Regions from separate parts of the Homo sapiens genome. Here region 1 is linked to region 2. The links are contacts of gene promoters, found by promoter capture Hi-C in blood cells and fetal thymus (Javierre and others, 2016). All regions are on one chromosome and are shown on one strand. Each heading gives the region's core, a stretch centred on a gene start or on the middle of the fragment in contact. The rest is flanking DNA. Distances are from core to core; before and after follow the strand shown. Region 1 overlaps LINC02320 (long intergenic non-protein coding RNA 2320). Region 2 holds the start of DYNC1H1 (dynein cytoplasmic 1 heavy chain 1).

Evidence for each region. Contacts are between HindIII fragments. The CHiCAGO score rates a contact against its expected background, and 5 or more counts as called.
Region 1: a contact is called between a fragment that was not itself captured here and the fragment with the promoter of DYNC1H1 in region 2, in 14 of 17 cell types (total CD8 T cells, total B cells, naive CD8 T cells and 11 more). The highest score is 9.0, in total CD8 T cells.

Annotation. Positions count from the first base shown.
Region 1 is chr14:101,707,266-101,713,871 of GRCh38, forward strand. The region is part of intron 1 of LINC02320 (long intergenic non-protein coding RNA 2320); the gene reads right to left. Among named protein-coding and RNA genes, the nearest start is that of LINC00239, 20 kb to the right of the region's middle. RefSeq lists an enhancer at 424-1,194. The HindIII fragment of the contact is 1,803 bases long and covers 2,589-4,391 here.
Region 2 is chr14:101,961,521-101,969,031 of GRCh38, forward strand. It overlaps DYNC1H1 (dynein cytoplasmic 1 heavy chain 1), which reads left to right and starts at 3,053. Exons shown (of 78, transcript NM_001376.5): 1 at 3,053-3,427. The coding sequence starts at 3,172. RefSeq lists enhancers at 2,606-2,745, 2,790-3,400, 3,401-4,010 and silencers at 2,886-3,045, 3,536-3,745. The HindIII fragment of the contact is 2,903 bases long and covers 1,673-4,575 here.

The DNA of each region.
Region 1 (6,606 bases), core at 2,240-4,739, 250 kb before region 2:
AGCCCGGGACAGGTGTAGTGAAGATGCCTGTCCCGTGAAATCCTCCCCTTTAATGAGGAGGCTGCCTACCGCCGGGGCCAAGGAACTGAAATGGAGCAAGAAGGGGCCGCAGGCAATTCACCACCAGCAGGGCCTGTGAGTCCTTGAGCCCCGCATAAAAAAGTATCCAGCTTGGCGCAATCTAAGGTGTAATTGTACCATTTGGTCACCAGAGGGCGCTCAATAATCATCTTTGCTTTTAGTATCGCAAATTACGCAGCAGAAAACTTCCTGCCCATTCAGCACACGCAAGCCACTGTTGCATGTTTCTTGTGTCAGCTCAAGTAATTCTCACAACCAGCCATGAAGTATTTGTTGTTGCCCTTACACAGCCGAAGAATCTGAGGTTCAGAGTATTTGAGTAATTTGGCTGAGGTCACACAGCAGTGACTCTTAGAGGCAGGACCAAGCCCAGGTCTTGTCTCCAGAGGCTGCACTGTGCACCCCCATACTGCTTCCTGTTCGACCTGTATGATACTGCATGCATTTAAGTTCATGTTCTAGCAAAATATCTCCCTGTATAAGGTGCCAAACTTTTATTTGAAGTGCTAGGGGTGCACACAGTGCAGCACAGAGGAAAGTCCTTTGTTTCGTCCCAGGAGTTTGGGTCTGACCCTGTAGCAGGGTGTGCTTGTGCCGGCTCACAAGCAGACTATTACAGTGCAGGGTGTGTAGTAGGACCCTCTGGGCTCCCTCATCCCCACCAGTGCTCACATGCTCCTGATCACCAAGGACAGCCGTCCTGGACCTCCCCAAGTCGTCATGCAGGCCATCTGGGAAGGGAATATGCCCAGGAGCTCCGCCTCTGAGCTGTTGGAAATGCATGCCCCAGGGTGGGCTCAGAGAGCAGGCAAACACACAGGGTATTGTCCAGGTGACGGAGGGGGTCCTGGGCCCTATCTGGGGGCTGCTGTAGGGTTAGCAGCTGAGAAAGGGCCTCACAGCTCTAGCCAAGGAGTCTTCCCTATTCACCCAAATCTGGAAGTTTCATATGGTTCTGGAGACCCGGCTCTGAGAGGACCCCAGCTCCAGAGGGCGGAGGCCACATTTGCATCCCCCGGCTTTGCAAAGCCCTGCCACATAGCAGTGGACTCCATACATACTCAGAGGTAAAGAGAGGGTGAGAAAGAGAAAGGGAAGGATGAAGGGAGGGAGGCTCAGACAGAGGGTGGAAGGGGCAAAGACCAGCGAGTCCATCTGGGCCCCACAAGTGGACCCAGGGAGCTGGCATGGGGCGTGGCTTGTGGAGGAGGGTGAGTCTGGACAGCAGCGGGCCACCTGTTTAGGCTTTGTCCCAGGAGTCTGGGTCTGACCCTGTAGCAGGGTGTGCTTGTGCCGGCTCACAAGCAGACTATTACATTTTCAGGAATTTTGCAGATCAGTTGTTAAGCACAGCCATTATTAAAGATTAAATTATATTCAAAAACAGGTAATAAATACTCAAAACTTTCTAACATTTTACTATACTTTATTGTTTTCTCTGCCGTTGAGGTTATTTCTGTGTGGTGCGTCTGTGTAGTAGAGCCTGTGTGACGATGTGCTATTGATCTCTTCCCCACGGCATAGTCAGTGACTTCAGATTGGTAGTTTGAAATTGGCCATGACAGGCAGATTTACACCATGGAAATTGGCAAACACTGCCAATCGGGGCTTTTTATCCAGAGCAGTCGTTAAACATTTACACGTAGTGCACTACTGTCCATAAGGGGCAGCATGGTCAGACTGCACTTTTAAAAGGTCTTGAGGGCAGGGGAACCAAGAGGCGTTCAAGTAAAGGAGTGAAGAATCAGAGCGTGACGTAGTTTAGCGACTTGGACCAGGACACGTTTGAAAGCCTAAGTACCTTAGAGGAGCCACTGGCTGACGTCCAGATGGCAGAAAGAAAGCCACCCCAAATCAGGCCCTCTCATTCAGTGCTGAGGAGCACGGTCTAGACGGCTGGTTCAACTTTTAAACACATGGGAAAATAATCCCCACTGGGACACAGCCCCGCCGCCCTGGATCCCAGCCTGCCCCAGGGTGTCTGTCTGCTGCTTCTGCCACCCTGCAGCTGCGCAAATGTTTGGGGAAGGGTCCTATCTGGAGGGGCCTCCTTTCACCGCCCAGATGCAGCAGGGCAAGCCTGGGCAGCTGTGTTGGACACCAGCCCCACGCTGCCTCCGTTGCCTTCATTCTCAGATGAGGAGGATGCAGGGAAACAGGGCAGGGGTGGGGGATGGGGGAGGGACAGAAGGCGAGGACTGCAGTTTTGGGGCATTTTCAACATCATTAGCCACGTCGAGTAGACGGCCGGAGGTGGGTGGGAGAGGTATTTGGGCATTGCTGGCACGCACGTAGGAGCTCCACAGGGGCCAGTGTAGGTAAAGGGAAGAACTGAGGTCGGAGAGGAGCTGAGAACATGTGGTGGGGGCATCGGTGGAGGCAAAGGGCCCCCCAAAACAGCTCGCTCCCTGGCTGGAGATGCTGTGCCAAACAGAAAGAGGAGGAGGACTTCATCGGAGGAGGCCAAGCTAGTGCCACCTAGCAGTGCCCTACACTTAGGTTCCAAAAGCTTGGTGTCTTGGGTTCTCAGGCACCATAGGCCACAGTGCTCACATATAAAGGGTATATGGAGGTTAAAAAAAAAAGCCTCTGTGACCAAACGGTCTCCTCACCAACACACAGCTCACAGCTGAGTTCTGCCTTAAATGCAATGAGGTCTGCCTGACCCCATAATCTCACATTGGCCCCAACTGGCCAACACCAGCCACCACGACCAATCCAGAACCTTTGCTAGACCAGCTGAGGCTGCAGGAGAGAGGTCCTGGCTTCAGCGAGAAGGAAATGAAGGATACATCAGCCCAAGATATATCCTAGGTGGACCAGCCAGGTCACCTAGGCCCTGCCTATAGCCCAGGCCGGCACACGGGACCTGTCCCTCTTCCTGTTGGTCAGCACAGGGATCCAGGAAGCGAGAAGTGGGGAGGTGGGGCCTTTTATGCAGTGACTGTGCCCACCGACCACACCTGCTGGCCACGCCTACTGCTAAACGCAGCCCAAACAGTGACTCAGCTTCCACCAATCCAATCAGCATCCGTTCCTCCATGGGAGGTGTTTGGAGAGGGAGTAGGCTCAGAGATGAGCTGAGGTCTGGAAGACTCCTCTCCAACAAACATCTCAGGGGAACCCAAACACCAAGAGGCAGGAGCACAGCTGCTCTGGCCAAAGGGAGGGCCTCAAGCCCACTTAGTCTTCACCTCACTAGGAGCCAGGGCACACTGCCTGTGAGAATGCTGGGAGCCCACTCACTCCTTAAAACCACACTGTGAGGCCAGATTCACTACCCTTCTTGTACAGAAGAAGAGACTGAGGTTCAGAGAGGCCCACTATACACCCAATGGCACACAGCTGTTGGGTAGCAGCCTCACTGGCCTCCTTCACTGGGCTTGTCCCCCTCCAGTGACTGCCTGGTTAGGGACACCAGGCATGAGGCTAGGACAGGCACCCCATGGATCAGCTCCACCTGCCTCTCAATGGCTCACCCAAAAAGATACCAGTAACTCAAAGGAAGGGGGTGCTGTGGTCTGAATGTGTTCCCCCAACATTTATGTGTTGAAATCCTAACTCCCAGGCGATGGTATTAAGAGGAAATTGGTACCAAGTGGGGGTGCTACTGTAACAAGTACCTAAAAATGTGGAAGCAGCTTTGGAACTGGAAGAGTTTGGGGGTACCTGCCAGAAAACGCCTACATTGCCATGAATGAACCATTAAGGGTGATTCTGGGGAGGGCTCAGAAAGACAAGAGACTTGGAATCCCACAGACCATGTTCCCCGGGGCCGCCTGTCCACCCCCCTCACTCAACCACCGGGCCATCCAGTGCTGGGGATGAGGAAACAGCCGGGCCCCTGCCTGCCTGTGGAGGCCCCATCTGGTCATCTGCTGTCACCCATGACGAAGTGCAAGGAGGTCTATGTTTGAATGTCCCAGAGGCCAGCCCAGCCACTCCACTGAGAATTTCACCCCTCCCAGGCGTCACCTCCCTTCCCAGCTTCATGTAGCTCCAGGACACAGGAAACAGCATTCCTCCTTTACCCTGTTGCCTCCACCCTCCACCACAACACAGACACCAGGCAGGCTCTTTCCAGCACTGTGTTCCCTGCAGAACCCCCTGCCACAGACCCACACTCATTCCCTGAAGGGAGGGAGGCAGGCAGAAGGGTGGCAGGAGGACCCCCCTGCACAGAGCTGCTGCCCCAGCTGCACGGCCAGAGAAGGGGGGCAGCCAGTGTGGGGAGGGGTGGCAGTCAAAGGAGTGCCACAGGGGAGCAGCAGCTGGGGCTGGGTCTAGACACTCAACAGAGGTTGACTGGAAGCTTCCACTGTGGCTAAGGGACAGCCACTCCTGCCTTGTCCCCTCACAGGTCAAGTCCTCAGAGGAAACACAGAGGACAGAACTCAGCACTTCCCAACTGCAATCTCACCCCACCCAGCGAGATCTCACCCCACCCAGCGAGATCTCACCCGACCCACCGATATCTCACCCCACCCACCGAGATCTCACCCCACCGAGATCTCACCCCACCGAGATCTCACCCCACCCACCATCATCTCTCCCCACCCACCGTCATCTCACCCCACCCACCGTCATCTCTCCCCACCCACCGTCATCTCACCCCACCCACCGTCATCTCACCCCACCCACCATCTCTCCCCCCCCACCGTCATCTCCCCCCCACCCACCATCTCTCCCCACCCACCGTCATCTCTCCCCACCCACCGTCATCTCTCCCCACCCACCGTCATCTCACCCCACCCACTGTCATCTCACCCCACCGAGATCTCACCCCACCCACTGTCATCTCACCCCACCCACTGTCATCTCACCCCACCCACCGAGATCTCACCCCACCCACCATCATCTCTCCCCACCCACCGTCATCTCATCCCACCCACCGTCATCTCTCCCCACCCACCGTCATCTCATCCCACCCACCGTCATCTCTCCCCACCCACCGTCATCTCATCCCACCCACCGTCATCTCTCCCCACCCACTGTCATCTCTCCCCACCCACCGTCATCTCACCCCACCCACCGTCATCTCACCCCACCCACTGTCATCTCTCCCCACCCACTGAGATCTCACCCCACCCGCCGTCATCTCACCCCACCCACTGTCATCTCTCCCCACCCACCAAGATCTCACCCCACCCACCGAGATCTCACCCCACCCACCGTCATTTCTCCCCACCCACTGTCATCTCTCCCGACCCACCGTCATCTCACCCCACCCACCGTCATCTCATCCCACCCACCGTCATCTCACCCCACCGTCATCTCACCCCACCCACCGTCATCTCACCCCACTGTCATCTCACCCCACCCACCATCATCTCACCCCACCCACCGTCATCTCACCCCACCCACCGTCATCTCTCCCCACCCACCGTCATCTCACCCCACCCACCGTCATCTCTCCCCACCCACCAAGATCTCACCCCACCCACCGTCATCTCTCCCCACCGTCATCTCACCCCACCCACCGTCATCTCACCCCACCCACCGTCATCTCTCCCCACCCACCGAGATCTCACCCCACCCACCGTCATCTCACCCCACCCACCGTCATCTCACCCCACCCACCGTCATCTCCCCCCACCCACTGTCATCTCTCCCCACCCACTGTCATCTCACCCCACCGAGATCTCTCCCCACCCACCGTCATCTCTCCCAACCCACTGTCATCTCACCCCACCCACTGTCATCTCACCCGAGATCTCACCCCACCCACCGTCATCTCCCCCCACCCACCGTCATCTCCCCCCACCCACTGTCATCTCTCCCAACCCACTGTCATCTCACCCGAGATCTCACCCCACCCACTGTCATCTCACCCCACCCACTGTCATCTCACCCCACCCACTGTCATCTCTCCCCACCGTCATCTCACCCCACCCGCTGTCATCTCACCCCACCCACTGTCATCTCTCCCCACCCACTGTCATCTCACCCCACCCACTGTCATCTCTCCCCACCCACTGTCATCTCACCCCACCCACTGTCATCTCACCCCACCCACCGTCATCTCTCCGGACCCACCGTCATCTCTCCCCACCCACCGTCATCTCATCCCACCCACCGTCATCTCTCCCCACCCACCGTCATCTCCCCCCACCCACCGTCATCTCCCCCCACCCACTGTCATCTCTCCCCACCCACCGTCATCTCACCCCACCCACCGTCATCTCACCCCACCCACCGTCATCTCACCCCACCCACTGTCATCCCACCCCACCCACTGTCATCTCACCCGAGATCTCACCCCACCCACTGTCATCTCACCCCACCCGCTGTCATCTCACCCCACCCACCGTCATCTCACCCCACCCACTGTCATCTCACCCCACCGAGATCTCACCCCACCCACCGTCATCTCTCCCCACCCACTGTCATCTCACCCCACCCACTGAGATCTCACCCAAGTATAATCTTGCAGCACCGCTTTTCTTTCTAATGTCTTGACAAGCAGGTGAGAAGATGCTGAGTGTTCTTGGTCCATTGCTGTGGCTACAAAGGCTGGTTCTAGTG
Region 2 (7,511 bases), core at 1,803-4,302:
TGATCCACAGTGCACCCCGTGTCCCCACGGCCACCGCCAGCGCCCCTTCCTCGGGGTAAGGCATTAGTTTCACACCCACCAACCAAGTGCACGCTTTGGTCCAGGCCCCGCTGGTGCTGAGAATCCCGAGAAGCTTAGACCTCCCTGCTCTCACAAGTGGGGATGAATGAATGAACGAATGAGCCCAAGATGGAAATTCTTTTTCTTTAAATTTATTATTATTATTATTATTATTATTATTATTATTATTTAGAGACGGGGTCTCACTCTCTTGCACAGGCTGGAGTGCAGTAGTGAGATCACAGCTCACTGCAGCCTCGACCTCCACCTCAACCTTTTGAGTAGCTGGGAACAAGGGTGTGCACCACCACACCTGGCCAAATGTGGAATTTCCAGGGAGTGGAGGGGAGATCCTGGGCACAGAGCCTGAAAGGGCTGGGGCAGCAGGGGTTCCTCTGAGGGGGTTGGTCCTGCCCGAAGGTTGTGAGAGGGAGAGGAAGGATGGTATGAAACTGGGCACCCGACTTGAGACTTGGACTTAAGGAGACATTGTTAAGAGAAGGGTGGGAATGAATGGGATCTCATCATGGATTTCCAATAGGATACAAGCGCCCTACCAGCCACTATCATCCCACATCAACCTAGAACGAATTCTCTCTCCAGCTTGCCCTGCCCCCTGCCCTGCCCAGAGTCTGTCCAAGCAGACTCTACCACAGACAGGAGAAAGCTGAGGCAGCAGAACAAGAGACGGGAGAGGCCAGGTTTGGGTGAGGGGCCCTACCCCCACCAGGGTCAGCTTGGGGTGTGCTGGAGCCAGAGTCCTGTGCCAGGAGGCAGAAGGGGCACCTTGAAAGAAGCTCCCCACACCCTTCAACCCTGGCACAGCCCAGCCAGCCACCCAGGTAATGCACTTAAAGTGCTCAGCACCCAGTCAGCGTTGACCACTCTTCTCGTTATATATTAAATACAACAAACATCTTTCAAGAACAAAAAGCAAGCATGTTTGGTCCATTCATGAATCCTTGTACACTGATTGTTCGGGTTCTTTCAGTTCCCATCCACTTAGAAATAACAAACATGTTTCATTTTGAGCCTATCCTACAGGGCCGCAAATCCGGAGCCTGCAGTTTGTTCTCTTGGCCTGGGGCCAGGTTGCAGATGTTTGAGTCCCTTGGATCCCTGAGTGGCTGCGTCTCCCAGTCTGGTGCTGACTCATGGTGCAGCCAGCATGCAGCCTGCCCATCGGCCAGGTCCCTGCAGGTTTCTGAGTCTCAGATGGTGGATGGCCTATTCAGAGTTCACAGATCTGCACCTAATAGACTTTCCTCTTTGTCCCTCTTTCTACCCCTAAAGTACATGTGAGGGGAAACCCTCTGCATGGTGCCTAGCACGCAGTGAACACTCAGCGTTCGCTGTCAGTGGTGTGTTATTATTATTCATTACCATTAGGATCCTTGCACAAACTCATCGCAGTTGCCTATTTATTTTTTCCAGGAAGATTACTCGGAACTGCTTAGGCACATCACACCAGGGCGGACTGATGGAGAGCAGGAAGATGGGGTATTCATCTGTCCCCTCTTCCACATGCTCCTTAAAGACAAGAATCATCTGATTAGTCTCCGTGTTCCAGCAACCCCCTGGGACCCAGCAACCGGTAATTAGGCAAGGAATAAGCTTATTGTATGTTTCACAGTTTTTCAAAGATGATTTGGGAGAATCAAATCATACCATCATCATTCCACCAATCAGGACTCGGCACTCTGACAGTGCACTTTGATGTTTAAAAAAAACAAAAAAACCAAAAAAAAAAAAAACGCCATTGGCTTCCCTCTCTCCACCCAACTTAAGAAAGAAGTTATGAATGTGAACTTTCAAAGGCCAATTACTACCCCTTAGAAGAACCTACCATCTCTAAACTACAAAGATGGGCAGCCTGGATTCTATTATTTTTATTATTTTACAAAATTCTTAATTTTTAAATACACATAGATATAGGGTCTCGCTAGGTTGACCAGGCTGGTCTTGGAACTTCTGGCCTCAAGCAATCCTCCCATCTCAGCCTCTCAAAATGCTAGGATTACAGGTGTGAGCCACCGCACCCAGCTGGGCAGCCTGGATTCTGGCTCTTATGTAGTCATGGTGTAGGGGAGGAGGTCGTGGTGGGTCCGAACTAGGGGGAAACTTGGTGGGCAGGCAACCCAGCCCCTGCCTTGTACGGACCCAGATACTGAGGCCCACAGAATGACAGTGCCAGCTCTAGGGGGCTGGAGGAGAGCCATTGCTGGAGGTAGCTGTTCTCAGTAGGTCTCCCTCTTGGTCCTCACAGCGTCCTCGGGGACAATGATTTTTGTCATTAGGAACCAGATCCCATCACAGCTTGGCTTTACGTACAGTGAAGGTGTCATTCCTGGCTTAACCTTACACTGCCCCGAAGGCCCCCTCCCCAGCTGTCCGTTTCCAGCCTGGCAATGGGACTCTCTGAGCACGCCCCTCATCTCCTCCCCCTCTGAAAAGTATCCTCAATCTCCCGGTCTATATCTAATAACACATCTGTCGTGCCTATATTTTGGTACCTGATACGTAGTCATTCATTCATTCAATGAGAGAACATTTAATGAGAGGTTAAGGGGCTTAGAACAACGCCGGGCACAGGCTAAGCGCTCACTAAACGTTAGCTCTCGCCAATAACATCACTGATTCACTATAAAGTTTCTCTGGCTGTGTGCTATTCGCTGCGTCCACAGCAGTGAAGAAGACAGACGCAGCCCCTGACCAACCTCGCCAAGCCCGGGCGCCGAGCCAGGACGTTGAGCCAAGTCCCCATCTCCTAGGACTCGCAGTGCGGAGGCTGCGGGCCCCGACCAGCGCCGAGACTACAAGTCCCAGAAGGGCGCGCGGCGACATCGCCGGGCCCGCCCCCCGCGCACGCGCGGCGCCGTGACGCTAAGGCCGCGAGCGAGCGCGGGTGGCTGCGGCGGCTGCGGCCGGCGGGGCGGGGCGGGGCCACCTGGCAGTGGCTGCCTTTAGGGCGGAGCCGGCTCCCGCTCTCCTCAGTCTGCGGTGGGCTAGCGGACGGTCCGGCTTCCGGCGGCCGTTTCTGTCTCTTGCTGGCTGTCTCGCTGAGTCGCGGCCGCCTTCTCATCGCTCCTGGAAGGTCCCGAGCGCGACACCATGTCGGAGCCCGGGGGCGGCGGCGGCGAGGACGGCTCGGCCGGATTGGAAGTGTCGGCCGTGCAGAATGTGGCGGACGTGTCGGTGCTGCAGAAGCACCTGCGCAAGCTGGTGCCGCTGCTGCTGGAGGACGGCGGCGAGGCGCCGGCCGCGCTGGAGGCGGCGCTGGAGGAGAAGAGCGCCCTGGAGCAGATGCGCAAGTTCCTTTCGGACCCGCAGGTCCACACGGTGCTGGTGGAGCGCTCCACGCTCAAAGGTGCGGGGCCGCGGAGGGCAGGGTCGCCAGAGCCAGGCCTCGCGGAATGCAGGGCCTGCCAGGTCCTCCGGGGTCGCAGATGTCCCCGGGATGGGAGGAGCCCGGCAGCTGCAGATGACCCCTGGATGGGCAGAGCCCGGCGGCCGCAGACGTCCCGCCGGCCGGGTCCCCAGGGCCGCAGACGCCCCGCAGAGGCCGGCGCGGCGCCCGGGGCTCGCCCTCGCCACACCCACTGCCCGGCCCGGAGCCCCCAGGGCGCCCCGCTCCTGGTCGCGGGGAGGGGAAAGGGGTCCCCGTCTGCCGTCACCCAAAACAATGGGGTCGCTTTGTCTGCTCGGGCCTCTCAAGATGGCCGAGTTGGGTGGAGACAGCGTCTCCCTGGGCTGAGAGCGGGCGAGGCCGCATCCCTGCCTCCAGTGTCACATGAGCTTTTCGGTTTCGATTTGTGTCCAAGCCAAGTGGCCTTCGGGAGGGATGTGTCGGGGGCAGACCCGCGGAGCTGGGGGCAGCCGGGGTTCTGGTTCGGGAGGAGGTCGGGCGGGTGTCCCAGCCCTGCCTTGTGGGGACCCAGAGGCCGAGGCCCACAGAGCGACGGTGCCAGCCCCGGGCCTGCGAGCATCACTGTTGTAGGTGGATGCTCTCACAGCATCCTTGCTGAACGGGTGTATCCTGATTTTACACCTGAGGAAACTGAGGCTCAGGTTAAGTGATTTCACCCAAGGTCACCAGCTAATCTTAGTCCTGAGACTAGACTCAGTGTCTCAGCTCCCCATCCACTGCTTGTTTTCACTGATCATACCTCATATTTGTTTAATGCTTCGATGATGTTAATGATAACCCTGTAATATTTGAGTCTAATTTTACAGATTAAAAAAAAAAAAAAAGATTCAGGTTAGGCACCTAGTAGGGGGAAGAGGCTAGAGTTAGCGTGTTCCAGCTGTCTCCTCAAATAATGATCGCCCACCAGCAAGGTTACATTCATCTAAGTCTGGGGCTTGCCTGCAGGCAGGCTTTCTCATGGATTCATTACAACCACTTTGTAGCCCATTACAACCACTTTGGGTGTGGCGTGTCCATCTAAGAACCTAAGGATGATGTCCAAGGTTAGCCTCTAGGGATTGGAGATTGTCTAAAAATATTTGCCAACAAGCTTCTTAAAATTTCAAAAAACTGTATGGTTCTCTCAGTGAGAGACCCTGTACTGTCTGCCCCATCCTTAACACACACTGTGTTTCTGATGGTTTGTTTCTTTCAAAGGCTATTCTTACTCAGAAGATGCTTCCCTGTAGCCTTGGTTTCCTGCCAGAGATTAGCAGGGTGTAAAAGAATATTTTTTTCTTATATCCACGTGGAATGTTCAAGGCAAATAAACCATTTGAGCATATTTAGAGTATTAATGTTTTTGAGGGTTGTTTACTGTGATGTTTGGGATTATGTATTCCTAAGTGGAAGCCACAAAAGTTAAAAAAAAAAAATTTATCTACTCTTTTTTTTTTCCAAAAAACATATAGTCATTGTAGAAAATGTACTATACAGCTAAAGTAAAAATCACTGGGAATTGTTTGACCCAGATATAATCACTGTCAGCATTTTTGGTTTATGTCTTTGTGGTCATTTTTCAATGCATATTCGTCATTTTATTAAAATACATTTTAATCTGCATTTTTAAAGTTAATTGTATTTTGAGTAGCTTGACCATTGCTAATCCTTGATATTTTTATTGCATAGTTTATGTATTAGAATCAGTGATTTTATTTTTTTTACCTTGTGTCACTCTTTTTATGAAAAAAAATTTAAGTTTTATACTTTGCTTCTAGAGTGATCACCAGTAATTCGCTTTTTCCAGGCATCTTAAAATTGGACGTTGCTAAAATTATTGGGGTGGGGGGACTATGTTTATGTAGTACAATATCTACTACAAATTCTCTCTGTTGTCTTATGAGTACCTTTTTTTCTTTCAGCAAAACAAATATGCAGGTATCCAAATCTTGGCTCCATAATGACTTGCACTTTTGAAAGTTGACTAAGGAATGAGACTATCTAAAATTGAAATCCTACCTCATTTCTGTATTTATAACAATCCTTGAAGTATTTCTACCAATTCAACCTGTCTATAATTTATTTTTCACTTACAAAAACCTAAGGAAAGATTTTTAAATTAATCCAGTTTTATGATAGATGGTCTGTTTGTCTTATTAGCAGCCTGGCTACACTAGGACACCTTAGATATAAGTAGAGACCCAGGACTTTTGGTAGGAGGGCTTTCTTCTTGGTGGCTTTTATGAGTTAGCTTTGGCATTTGTACATTTAATCAAATATGTGCATCCAGTAGTTAATTACAGTGAAAAGATAGGCATGCATTAATGTAGACAACAGAGCTGAATTATTTAAACTGAATAAAGATCACCAACAATGAAGTCATGTAATTTAATGAACAGTAGAAATTACTTTTATTTATTTTATTCCTTCCACTTTTTTTGTGGAAGTATCCAAACACTTGTAATTGAATATAGAAACATTTTTATGTGAAACTATATATATTTTTTATTTGTTTGTTTGTTTTAGCTACCCCAGCTAGCCATAAACTTTTGTTGTTAAAGTGCAGCATTGAGCTGGGTGCGGTGGCTCACACCTGTAATCCCAGCACTTTGGGAGACCAAGGCAGGAGGATCACTTGAGGCCAGGAGTTCAAGACCAGCCTGGGCAACATAGCAAGACCCTATCTCTACAGAAAATTAAAAAATAAGCCAGGCATGGTGGTGTATGCCAGTAGTTCCAGCTACTTGAGAAAATTGCTTGAGCCCAGGAGTTTGACGCTGTGGTGAACTAGGATCACACCACTTTGCTCCAGCCTGGGTACAGAGTGAGACCCTATCTCTAAAATAAATCAAGTACAGCATTACTCAAAGTATAGAATAAATGTTGTGAATTTAACAACTCATCTTGATACTGAGGAATTGGAGAGTTTGTGGGAAAAAGGGATTAAGTTATAGCTCCTCATTTTAAAAAGAGAAACCTTTGTATAGTTCCTGGCCTGTAGGAAATTGTCTTCCTCATAGTATGCTTACAGCATGGTGACAAAATAGGTGCTCATTACTTAACTAGCCATTTTATGTTAATGACGTTTTTGTAGCATTTTTTACTTCAAGGACCATTTTTTGGTTGTGTATCTCCGTTCGGTGGGGTATGCTTCAGTTTGCAGCTGATGGAACTGACATTTCCATGACTTGTCTGCTCTGCAGCTTGTTCATGACCTGCCTGGGATTGGCTGCTAGGTTGGTTGGTCTGGATGAGAGCGTGTAGTTTGGGTTTTTTGTTTGTTTTTGGTGGGGAAAGGGTTTTGTTTTGTTTTGTTTTGTTTGAGACAGGGTCTCAACTGTGTCACCCAGGCAGGAGTGCAGTGGCCCAGTCATGGCTCATTGCCACCTCGGCCTCCTGGGCTCCCAGTTCATTTTCTCATTTTTTTAATAGAGAGGAGGTCTCACCATGTTGCCCAGGCTGGTCTGGGACTTCAGGGCTCAAGCAATACTTCCACCTCCGCCTGCCAAAGTGCTGGGATTACAGGTGTGAGCTACCACACCCCACGTGTTTGTTTGTTTAACACTCCAGTGTTTGAGACTTGGAATTTTTTTTTTGAGACAGGGTCTCACTGTTGTCCAGGTTGGAGTGCAGTGGCACAATCTCTGCTCACCGCATCCTCAACCTCCGGTCTCAAGCGATCCACCCATCTCAGCCTCCTGAGTAGCTGGGATTACAGGCACACACCACCACGCCTGGCTCATTGTTGTATTTTTTGTAGAGGCAGGGTCTCCCCATGTTGCCCAGGCTGGTCTTGAACTCTTGGACACAAGTGATCCTGCTACCTCAGCCTCCCAAAGTGCCAGGATTACAGGCGTGCGCCATGACATCCAGCCTGAGGATTTAATTCTAAAGGATGAAGAAATGTAGTTTAATCAATGTAATTAATCTCCAACACAACATATCACCATGATTTCGTGCATTTAGAGGAGAAATGTTTTCTGGTTAAGTGGAAAATTGTACTATTGGCTTCTGCAAGACCTTCTTTCTTTCTTTTTTTCTTTTT